Regions from separate parts of the Homo sapiens genome. Here region 2 is linked to region 1. Evidence: promoter capture Hi-C in human tissues and cell types (Jung and others, 2019). All regions are on one chromosome and are shown on one strand. Each heading gives the region's core, a stretch centred on a gene start or on the middle of the fragment in contact. The rest is flanking DNA. Distances are from core to core; before and after follow the strand shown. Region 1 holds the start of ANKRD39 (ankyrin repeat domain 39). Region 2 overlaps NCAPH (non-SMC condensin I complex subunit H).

Evidence for each region. Contacts are between HindIII fragments. The study calls those that stand out against the background at their distance.
Region 2: a fragment that was not itself captured here is called in contact with the fragment with the promoter of ANKRD39 in region 1 in 1 of the 25 tissues and cell types used here (dorsolateral prefrontal cortex).

What each region holds. Positions count from the first base shown.
Region 1 is chr2:96,856,603-96,862,462 of GRCh38, reverse strand. ANKRD39 (ankyrin repeat domain 39) reads left to right here and starts at 4,447. Exons shown (of 4, transcript NM_016466.6): 1 at 4,447-4,575. The coding sequence starts at 4,476. SEMA4C (semaphorin 4C) reads left to right here. Exons shown (of 15, transcript NM_017789.5): 13 at 569-726; 14 at 814-884; 15 at 1,008-2,745. The coding sequence ends at 1,837. RefSeq lists silencers at 3,917-4,586, 4,617-4,786. The HindIII fragment of the contact is 43,475 bases long and covers 1-5,860 here.
Region 2 is chr2:96,342,661-96,348,520 of GRCh38, reverse strand. NCAPH (non-SMC condensin I complex subunit H) reads right to left here. Exons shown (of 18, transcript NM_015341.5): 4 at 5,673-5,765; 5 at 5,217-5,355; 6 at 4,292-4,416. Among named protein-coding and RNA genes, the nearest start is that of NCAPH, 9.8 kb to the right of the region's middle. The HindIII fragment of the contact is 3,084 bases long and covers 986-4,069 here.

The sequences.
Region 1 (5,860 bases), core at 3,198-5,697:
CAGGCATGACCTGCTGTTCCTAGTTGCCTTGTGCAATACTCTTGTGGCATGTTTGCTACACCTCCTGAACTTTGATTTGTTTGCCTTTTACCAGCTATTATGACTCAAAATTGTCCCCTAGAACATGGAATAATGGCAGAAAGAAAGTGTGTGGTTGAATAAACACACAGATTGGCATCCACCGTTGAAACAGGAAAACATCTTATGTTATGCTGCTGCTGTTGTGAGGGCTGATGGGCCTTGAAATGTATTTCCTGCACTATGTGTGTGTGAGTGTGTGTGATTATACTTTTTGGCCTCACAGCCCCATCATCCCTTTCTAATAACGTCACGTCGATAAGGGGCTTAGGATTGCATCTGGCCTGTGTAAGCCCTCTGAGTTCTGCGGTTCTTAGAGTTCCCTTTTCAGCACTATAGCTCTGCCTTGTTCCCTTGTTCCTCCTTCTGGCGCCCCGTGCTGTGCCCCCTGCAGGAGTCCAAGCTGTCCCCATGCTGCGTTCTGGTCCGGCCGCCCCTCCCGTGGTGTGGCCCTGGCCGACCCCCCTCCTGCGCCCCGCTTTTCTCGCAGAAGCTGCTCTTTGCCGGCTCCCGCTCTCAGCTGGTGCAGCTGCCCGTGGCCGACTGCATGAAGTATCGCTCCTGTGCAGACTGTGTCCTCGCCCGGGACCCCTATTGCGCCTGGAGCGTCAACACCAGCCGCTGTGTGGCCGTGGGTGGCCACTCTGGGTGAGTTGGGCTCTACATAGGCCAGGACCTCCAGGGACTCAGGGTGGTTGGAGCCAGGCTGCTGATGTACCCTACATCCCCTACCAGATCTCTACTGATCCAGCATGTGATGACCTCGGACACTTCAGGCATCTGCAACCTCCGTGGCAGTAAGAAAGGTGAGCTTTTTCATTCCCGTCGCATCGGGCTGAGCCCTGGACCAGAGCTGGAGTTTCTGTTCTCCTCTTCCCCAGCCCTGCTTTCCTGCACTAACATGCACTCTGTTTTCTCTGCCACTACAGTCAGGCCCACTCCCAAAAACATCACGGTGGTGGCGGGCACAGACCTGGTGCTGCCCTGCCACCTCTCCTCCAACTTGGCCCATGCCCGCTGGACCTTTGGGGGCCGGGACCTGCCTGCGGAACAGCCCGGGTCCTTCCTCTACGATGCCCGGCTCCAGGCCCTGGTTGTGATGGCTGCCCAGCCCCGCCATGCCGGGGCCTACCACTGCTTTTCAGAGGAGCAGGGGGCGCGGCTGGCTGCTGAAGGCTACCTTGTGGCTGTCGTGGCAGGCCCGTCGGTGACCTTGGAGGCCCGGGCCCCCCTGGAAAACCTGGGGCTGGTGTGGCTGGCGGTGGTGGCCCTGGGGGCTGTGTGCCTGGTGCTGCTGCTGCTGGTGCTGTCATTGCGCCGGCGGCTGCGGGAAGAGCTGGAGAAAGGGGCCAAGGCTACTGAGAGGACCTTGGTGTACCCCCTGGAGCTGCCCAAGGAGCCCACCAGTCCCCCCTTCCGGCCCTGTCCTGAACCAGATGAGAAACTTTGGGATCCTGTCGGTTACTACTATTCAGATGGCTCCCTTAAGATAGTACCTGGGCATGCCCGGTGCCAGCCCGGTGGGGGGCCCCCTTCGCCACCTCCAGGCATCCCAGGCCAGCCTCTGCCTTCTCCAACTCGGCTTCACCTGGGGGGTGGGCGGAACTCAAATGCCAATGGTTACGTGCGCTTACAACTAGGAGGGGAGGACCGGGGAGGGCTCGGGCACCCCCTGCCTGAGCTCGCGGATGAACTGAGACGCAAACTGCAGCAACGCCAGCCACTGCCCGACTCCAACCCCGAGGAGTCATCAGTATGAGGGGAACCCCCACCGCGTCGGCGGGAAGCGTGGGAGGTGTAGCTCCTACTTTTGCACAGGCACCAGCTACCTCAGGGACATGGCACGGGCACCTGCTCTGTCTGGGACAGATACTGCCCAGCACCCACCCGGCCATGAGGACCTGCTCTGCTCAGCACGGGCACTGCCACTTGGTGTGGCTCACCAGGGCACCAGCCTCGCAGAAGGCATCTTCCTCCTCTCTGTGAATCACAGACACGCGGGACCCCAGCCGCCAAAACTTTTCAAGGCAGAAGTTTCAAGATGTGTGTTTGTCTGTATTTGCACATGTGTTTGTGTGTGTGTGTATGTGTGTGTGCACGCGCGTGCGCGCTTGTGGCATAGCCTTCCTGTTTCTGTCAAGTCTTCCCTTGGCCTGGGTCCTCCTGGTGAGTCATTGGAGCTATGAAGGGGAAGGGGTCGTATCACTTTGTCTCTCCTACCCCCACTGCCCCGAGTGTCGGGCAGCGATGTACATATGGAGGTGGGGTGGACAGGGTGCTGTGCCCCTTCAGAGGGAGTGCAGGGCTTGGGGTGGGCCTAGTCCTGCTCCTAGGGCTGTGAATGTTTTCAGGGTGGGGGGAGGGAGATGGAGCCTCCTGTGTGTTTGGGGGGAAGGGTGGGTGGGGCCTCCCACTTGGCCCCGGGGTTCAGTGGTATTTTATACTTGCCTTCTTCCTGTACAGGGCTGGGAAAGGCTGTGTGAGGGGAGAGAAGGGAGAGGGTGGGCCTGCTGTGGACAATGGCATACTCTCTTCCAGCCCTAGGAGGAGGGCTCCTAACAGTGTAACTTATTGTGTCCCCGCGTATTTATTTGTTGTAAATATTTGAGTATTTTTATATTGACAAATAAAATGGAGAAAATGAAACGATTGCTCTGATGGGGCTAAGATGTTTGGGCTAAAGCCTTTCTGGGTACCAAGAGGGAAGGCTCTCTGGGTGGAGGGAGGCTGGACTGGGCCTCCCCCACAATCCCAGGGCAGCCACCACTTTTGTGGTCCCTGCCTGCCTGTGGGAGGGGACAGCCCAGCTCTAGTGTTTTCCCACAGTGGTGGCTGCGGGGCTGGGAACGAGACCATGGCCATAGCCCCTTGGGAGCCAGCCTTGGCTTCTGGCCAGAAGGAGAAGTCAGGGCACTGGGAGTCCAGGGGAGAAGCGGAGTGGTGGGGGGGGTGCCTTCCCAGAACTCAAGACGGGTAGTGGGAATGAGGGGCCAAAGGAGTGGAAGGTTGTGGAGATGAGATCATTGCTTGTGTGAGGATGGGGTTCTCAACCTGCTTAGGGGAGGAGAAACGACTTCCAGCCTTCTACCCACCAGGAATGCTAGGGTCTTCCGTGCCCCAACTAGCGGGGGAAGGAACTTACATCCAGTGTGCACCAGACCACTGTCCTGGAGAGGGACTGGCACAGAACCCAACCTGCATTCTGTCGTTCATGCACTCTTTCTAAGCCGATCAGGCGGTCTCCCCTGTACACTTGATCGTGGCTTGAGCAGGCAGCTGCCTGGGTTTTAACTGGGAATTGAGAAGGCTGGGGTCCGCTGAGGAGCACGCTGCGAAGGTGCGCGGTCCGCAGACGGCCTCCCGGTGGGTTTTGATCATGAAGACCGATTCCGTAAACTCAGCGCCCACTGTGGGGCCAGGGGGTTCTGCACAAACCAAGGCCCTGCCCCTGCCCTGAGGTGGAGCTACAGGCAGGACAAGTTGTGGCCACCTGCCCCTTGCTGGACTTGTAAGGAAGAGCAGGGTACGGGGAGGGGCGTCTCGAGGCCTTTCCAGCCGTCACTTTGCCGCTGCCCCGGGGGCGGTCGGCCTTGGTCCGGGGTGGTGCCAGGAAGAGGGGCTAAAAACCGTGGAGCGCGCCCCGGCCCGATGGCTCACGCCTGTAATCCCAGCACTTTGGGAGGCCAAGGTGAGCGGATCACGAGGTCAAGAGATCGAGACCATCCTGGCGAAACCCCGTCTCTACTAAAAAATACAAAAAATTAGCCGGGCGTGGTGGCGGGCGCCTGTAGTCCCAGCTACTCAGGAGTCTGACGCAGGAGAATCGCTTGAACCCGGGAGGCGGAGGTTGCAGTGAGCCGAGATCGCGCCACTGCACACAAGTCTGGGTGACAGCGAGACTCCGTCTCAAAAAAAAAAAAAAAAAAAAAAAAGACCGCGGAGCGCGTGGCGCCTCCCTGCCCTAGGGACTAGGGGCGGTAAAGAGAGGAGGCTGCGAGGTCGCTGGACGGCTGGGTCATGGCGAAGGTAACGGGAAAGCTCCCGACCGGACCCAGCTGCCTCATCCCCACACCCTGCAAGGCCAGGCGGCCCGGCGGCCCTCCAGCGGCGCGCGGCTCCCGGAACCCAGCGCCTCAGTCCTCGCTTGGCCTTGGACGCCCTCGCGCGGAGGCCTCGGGGCACGGCCGGGCGCAACAAGCCCCGCCCTACCGTTGCAATTGGTTCTCGAGCTAAGGCCTAGGCGTTTGATTGGTCAGCTTTGGCGAGAAGGCGGGACTAGGGCGACAGCCGCGGACGCCGAGCGGCCAGATCAGGGACGCGGGGCGGGCCCTGCGTCCGCCCCTCCCGCCGAGGCTGAGCCTGAGACCCGGGGCGGATCGACTGACGCCGGGGCCGGGATGGCGACGCCTCGGCCCTGCGCGGACGGGCCCTGCTGCTCGCATCCCAGCGCGGTGCTCGGCGTACAGCAGACGCTGGAGGAGATGGACTTCGAGAGGGGTGAGGCTGCCGCGCGGCCCTCGTGGTTCTCACCAGGCCCCGGCCCAAGGAGGAGGCGTGGGGCCAAGGAGAGGCGGATGAACGGGGCCCCGAGAGCTTGGGGCTTGGGGCTTGGGGCCTGGTGCGGGAAGGCGGGCGGGACCCACGGTTCCCGTGTACTGAGAGCCTCCCAGGGCCCCGCACGAGCTCGGCCAGGAGACACCTGTCCCGCGGGCGGCGGGGAAGCGGAAGCACTGGTTTCCGTAACCCTCCCGAGTAGCGGGGGACGACCTCCCCTGGGAGACACAAGCCTGCTCAGGTGTTTGAGAGAGGGCCCGGGGAGCAGAATCTGCACCAGGGGCATTGCACCCAACCTGAGGGGCATGGAGCTGCAGGCCTGGGGGCTGCGCGGTGAAGGAGAGCAGTGGCCTTTGTTTAGCCCCGGGTGCCAGGCAGCCTGCATGCTTTAAAGATGGCAAGAGCTTCGCACGGGCAGCCTTCGAGGCAGGGCACAGTATCTCATCTGTGGGACCCAGAGAGGTAACACGTTTGGCCCAGATTATACAGAGATTATGGTGCCAATAGGAACAGAGGAAGGCGGGAAACCAGGGTGCTTCTTGTGAGCGTTGGGAACCACTGTGCTGTGTCATCTGCCCTTGCGGATGCAGCCCTCGATTGCCACTGCTGTGTAAGCATTCTCATGGAACTCTTCCTTTACCGTGGTTCTGGCACCTGCCTACTTCCCTCCGCCCCTCCTACCGCTGTCCTCTGCACTGCTGAAGTGGTTGCCTCAGAGGGTCTTTCTGCTTCCACGCTTGCCTTCCTACAGGGTTTTCTACTCTCACATAGCAGCCAGAGCGGCTTTTTGAAAATTAGAAATCACATCATTCCCTGTTATGGCCTACAAAGCTCTGTAGACCCACCCCTGCCGGTTCTACTTCTCCTCCTCATTTTATTTCTCATGCTTTTCTTCCCCCAATCACTACGCCGCAGCCACACTGGTCTTGTTTTGGTGTCTCAAATATGCAAGACCTTTTCCTGAGTTAAGGCCGTTGGACTTGCTGTCCCATCTCCTTAGAATGAACTTCCTACAACCGTTAAGCTAGCTGATGCTTTTCTTCAGATCCCAGCTCCAATGTCATCTCCTCAGAGACCCTCCCTAAACACCCCAGTTCTCAACTGGGGGCAGTTCTGCCCTTTAAGGGACTTTGAATATCTGGAGACATTTTGGGTTGTCACAATCAGGAGGGTGCTACAGGCGTGTAGTAGGTAGAGATGAGAGATGCTGTATACATGGTACAATGCA
Region 2 (5,860 bases), core at 1,278-3,777, 510 kb after region 1:
ATATCACCATGTTTAAAGACCTTGACATAGGCCAGGTGCGGTGACTCACACCTGTAATCCCAGCACTTTGGGAGGCCGAGGCGGGCGGCGGATCACAAGGTCAGAAGATCAAGACCATCCTGGCTAACACGGTGAAACCCCGTCTCTCCTAAAAATACAAAAAATTAGCCGGGCATGGTGGCGGGTGCCTGTAGTCCCAGCTACTCTGGAGGCTGAGGCAGGAGAATGGCGTGAACCCGGGAGGTGGAGCTTGCAGTGAGCTGAGATAGCGCCACTGCACTCCAGCCTGGGCGACGGAGCAAGACTCCATCTCAAAAAAAAAAAAAAAAAGAGAGAGACCTTGGCATAAATGGATTCACTAATATAAAACCGAGATGTGGTTGGGGCCAGCGTTCCCCATTTTTTATAGTATATGACAGTGAGATTCACAACTCTTCCCAGGTCAACAGCTAAGCACCGCACCCGGCCTACGTCAAGGTCTTTAAACATGGTGATATGCTACACACATCACCCACGGTTAATGCTGACACACACATAAGGAAAAAATACAACTCCCTCTCCCCACAAGAGCCAGCTGCTCTCGCCTCTCCCCTCCCTCTTAGGCCTCATTCTCAGTGACTCTCCTTCCTCTGGCCCCTCCCTGCCCGTGCACAGCAATGCCCTGCTCACCTCACCACTCAGAGTGGGCATGGCAAGGCCCCACCTCCCTAGCCCCTTGCACACTCAGTCTTACCACTACCATCTGCTGTAAGAACACTGGCATTCATCTCACTGTTGCCCTTTATCTGGCTTATTTATTAATTACACAAAAAGACCCAAGACACCCACAATTCTACATTTCTTGGACTCTAAGATCTATAGAACTCTGATGCCACCTCCCACCCCACCACAGCCCCCATCTCCCACTCCTCCTCAAAAACTGGTATTTCCTCAGGGCCCTCTAGACTCAGTCATCAGCAAAATTCTCTCTATCGCCCACTTAGTTCCTGAGGATTATCTCCACCTACTTGTTCTAATTTATGTATTCTCAATGGTGTTCTCATTTCACTCTCAAGGGGTGAAAACTGTTTCCTAGAGGCTAGGTGGGAAAAATCTTAGATATTACAATAATGTTTGCCTATCCAAATCTCTACCCTATCTGACAAAATCTTATTCCTTAGTATTTCATTTTAAGGGGAAGGAGTAGGCACAAAATGTCTAAATGGGTCTGAAGGGGCAAAAGTGATAAAAAAAAAAAAAAAACAGGCTGAGGGGCACTGCTCCAATTGAGACATGGTGCCAGCCTGAGGATAGGCTTCCCCTGCGGGCCTCTGCAGTGGCTGCTTTCTCTTCACAGCCGTCAAACCAGTGGCCTACAGGTGGGCCAGGTGATTGCAGCATCCAACTATCCCCCCTCCCAATTTCTAATGCCCCAGCTCTGAGTACAACATCAGCTTTTGCCACTGTCTGCCCATCTGTGTTGCAGTCATCTTCCAATCCCCAGGTCACAACCTGTCCTTCTTCTCAGAAGATCTTAGTATTAGTTTATGGCTCATTACTAGTCTCCAAATTTATTCCTGGTGTAGCTCTTATTGATTTCAATATCCATATGTTGATCCATCCAGTACACTGTCTCTTGGTTGATATCCTCTCCTTCAATGGTCTCCATCCTAAGAAACCCAGGACTCCAAGACAGCCAAGTAAGACACCAAGACAGCCTAGTAAGACCCCTACCCCGCCTCCGCCATTTGCTCCCTTGCCTGCTCTGAGTTGACTCATTAACCATGACTGCAACCTCTCTATATCCTCAATTCTAGGGCCCCTCTCTGGCAACCACCTCCTACATTTCCAGCTCACCCCTTCTTGTCCCCAACACCACGAAGTCTTTGACCCCACCAGGCCTACAATCTACTGATTATATTACTTTCCACTGCCCTCATTCCCCTGTCTTCCGAGGTAAAATTCCCTAAGCAGTGAATGCAACCACACCTTTACACATGCACTCACCTCCTCCAGTGTCCCTTTCCAGCTGTGTCCATTCACTCAGCTCAACAGGATCCCATATTAAACCCAACTTTCTGCCTACTCCATGATTGTACCCACACAGCTATTCACGGCTGGACAGAGACACAAAATAATGCTGACTGACCTCACTTTATATCCATCTGCCACCACCCTCAAGTAGACCCTAAGTTGTCTAACAGTCACACCATATCTCCCTAGTTCATGTACTCGCCCACCTCCTAGAGGACTCTTTCCTACCCTTTCCCCTCCTCACGCCCCCAGTGCCTTCCTTCCCTATCCTCACTGTAAGCTGATGACCTGGCTTCCTGTTTTAAGACAGTATCCAGAAGGCTCCCCCATGAGTGCACCCAAACAACACCCGTCAGCCGAGCCCAACCTGTGCTGTCCATTCCCTACCTCTCACCTGCGCAAGGACATCAGCCTGGCAATTCTCCTTTCTGCTGCATCATCAATAATCCCTTCTCCAAACTAGACTGCTGTCATCAACAAAATATGCTGTCATTTCTCCCATTCAAAAACAAAATCAAAACTCTTGGCCTTACTTTTCCCTCCATTTGCTATCCCAGTACTCTGCTCCAAATTATAGCAAAACTCTTCAAAACAACTACCTATATTCAAGTGTTTTCAGTCCTTTCCTCCCATTTATCATAAAAAAAATTTCAGATCCACAAGAATGTTGAAACAGTAATACGAATCTCTGTAAAGCTTCTACTCAGATTACCCAATGGGTAGCATTTTGCATATTTGTTTTCATTTACTCTCTCTATATATATCTCTCTCCCCACCCCAGAGTCTTTTGTCAGTAATCCTCATGACACTTCACCATGTCCCAGTTACTAAGCTACTGCCTCTCAGCTCTAAGCCTACCCTCTCTCCTTGGCTGTGATGCAGGGTCTGGGACATTCAGCTTTGCCGGCAGCTCCCTGTTAGGGTTTACCAAGTAGGGGCACTAGAGGGAGACTACAGGCTCCAAGGGAGAGAAGGCACTGCTCCTTTCTGCAGGTTGCATGTTAGGAGAGCGTCACCCAGCAGTGTTCCACCCCGGCTGCAGCAGAGCCCACCTGTAGCAGCAGCTGAACCCCACTGGCAGATTTTCACACTCACAGAACCAGCCTTATTGAGACACCAGCACCAGCCAGCATGCCCCCGTTCCAGGGTCTGGGTCCTGGGCACACAATCCCCTCCCTCAAACTCAGGGACACTAGCACCAGCCAAGCCCTTCCCTGGAGGTCTGAGCTTGAGTTTCAGAGGGGCCCCCACTCCAAGCTCATTAGTGGCCTCAGGTTGCCACATTTGGCATGGTTGATCATTCCCCACTCCCTGAAATATTTTCTCATTTGGATACCACGCTCTTCTGGTTTTCCTCCTACCTACTGGATGTTTTTTCAGCTCTCTGAACTCCTAAGATTGGGGAAAAGGAACTCCCAGTCTTTTTCCCATATACATTCATTTCCTTGGTGACCAATTCTAGTTTTGTGACCTTAATTACCATTTATGAATGTTGTGGAGGTAAGAGAGAAAAGTAATCTAGTCTACTGCTAGTGGGAGAGTAAATTAGTACCTTTTTTTGAGGGCAACTTAAAATCCATGTCTCAGAATTTTCTTACAGATATTCTCCCATACGAGTGCAAAGATAATATGTATTAGAATGTTCACTGAAACAATGTTTTTAATGGCAGAATTAAAAAATAAAATTGTAGTAACACCTGTTTGCTTTAAATTAACTGTGCTAATTATAGATGAGGCCTCCAGTACCATTTGTTTAAGCCGATTCCTTAGGATTTGCTAGATAGATGATTTAAAGCTAGGATTCTGGAGTTAGACCACTTAGCTTCAACTTCTAGCTCACTTACTAGATGTGTCGTTTCAGGCAAGTCATTGTGCCTCAGTTACCTCTTCCTAAAATGATACAAGAATGTTGTGAGGATTAAATGAGTTAATACAGGTTACAGGCTTAAGGAAGCACATGGTGCTCACTATGTGTACATTAAATGTTAGCTAACATAACCACTGCTACATTTACTAGGAAATAAAATTAATTTTTTATCAATTAGATTTCTCAGCAATTTGCAGTCTCTTCCTTTTGAATCATTCTGAAACACTGAGGGACTTACTTTTAGTCTTTACTGTCAAGCTAAAAGATGATAATGCAGAGATATCAGTTGAATATTTTACTCCCTTGAGGCTTAAACAGGCACATACCAGCAAGGCAGCCTTAGCCCTGCCAAGTCTCAGCCCCTAAGGTTCTGAATTAGTCAGAAACCACACTGCGCATACAGTTCCTCACCTCACACTTCCGATCTGCTTCGGAGACATTGAGGTTGTTTATGTTCTGCTCAATAGTTCTGTGTAAGTGCTTCTTCTTTGGCTTTACAGCCTTTTTGGTTGTTCCCATTTCAGTAGCACTTCCATCTAAAAGGAGAAATACAATTGCGTACTGCAAGGGCTGCTTTGAAGCATGTGATGAACTTACTAACTCAAGTTCTTCAAAACCTGTCGTAATTTAAACATGTGAGGCCAGGTGTGGTGGCTCATGCCTGTAATCCTAGCGCTTTGGGAGGCTGAGGCAGACGGATCACTTGAGCTCAGGAGTTCAAGACCAGCCTGGCCAACATGACAAAACCCCGTCTCTACAAAACAGTACAAAAATTAGCCAGACATGGAGATGCACACCTGTAGTCCCAGCTACTTGGGGTGGTGAGGCAGGAGGATCACTTGAACTTGGGAGCCAGAGGCTGCCGTGAGCCCAGATCACACCACTGCATACCAGCCTGGGTGACAAAGTGAGCCTCGTTTCAAAAAAAAAAAAAACAAAACTCCAACCCCAACCAAACAAAAAACACGCAGTTCTCTCAAAACATCAGGCATATTTAATCTGCAACTTATGGAGAAACCAAACTATTAGATTTGGCTTCTCACGCAAGTCCATTTCCAAAGACTCCCAGATCAGAAGTTCCTTAGTTGGTGATGTTTACACAACCTGGCCTAAATAAAATATAAACGCTTTTATAAGGCCCTTCTCTTTTTCAAGGAAATATAATTTTAGTGTTTGAGTATCTTCTCACGTAAGACCATATATGGTTCTAAAAATGCCCTGTCTTCAATAAAATGAGATCACTTATTTCTTGTGACCTTCTTCTAGTATATTACTCAAGTAACTACCTGGTATGCCCTAAAAAGAGCCACTTAAATCCAGATCCCTACCCACCTACCAGCAACATGGCCTTCTACTTCTTCCAAAGACGGTGCATCTTTGCCCAGCCCCCCAAGGACTCTGTATACATCGGCATGGACGGCATCCACGCGCACAGCATAGATCTTGGTGCTGGCATCCAGAGTACCCGCAGCCACCTAGTCAAACAATCAGAGCTGCACTCACAAAGATACACAAAAAACAACTTCTGAACAGGTAAAACACAGCAAGCTTCACAAAATATTTACTTGCCCCAAGGAAGCAATGACAAAGATCCCTCTATGACTGATAGGGAATAAACAGAATATATATTCTCTCTGTATTTCATCAGTTTAGGAAAAGAAAGTAAATTAACTAACATAACATCTAAATGAGAAGTCTCTCATGTATTTGCAGCATTCAACTGTGTTATGCCAAGTAGTAGAAATCATCATCATTTAATTCAGATGCAAGAGAAAGTGGACATCCTTCTTACTTTAAAGTTGGTTGGTTCGGTGTCTTTCTGTTTAAGAATCTCTGACATAAAATCAATCAAGTGCAAACCAAAAGCATTCTTGGTAGTGATTTTCTGAAAACAGAAAATTGCAGAAAGGATTGTTATTTATAGCCTAGGCTCATGTAAATAATGCTGCTTTTAACAGAGGAAGCTAAGTCTTTACATAG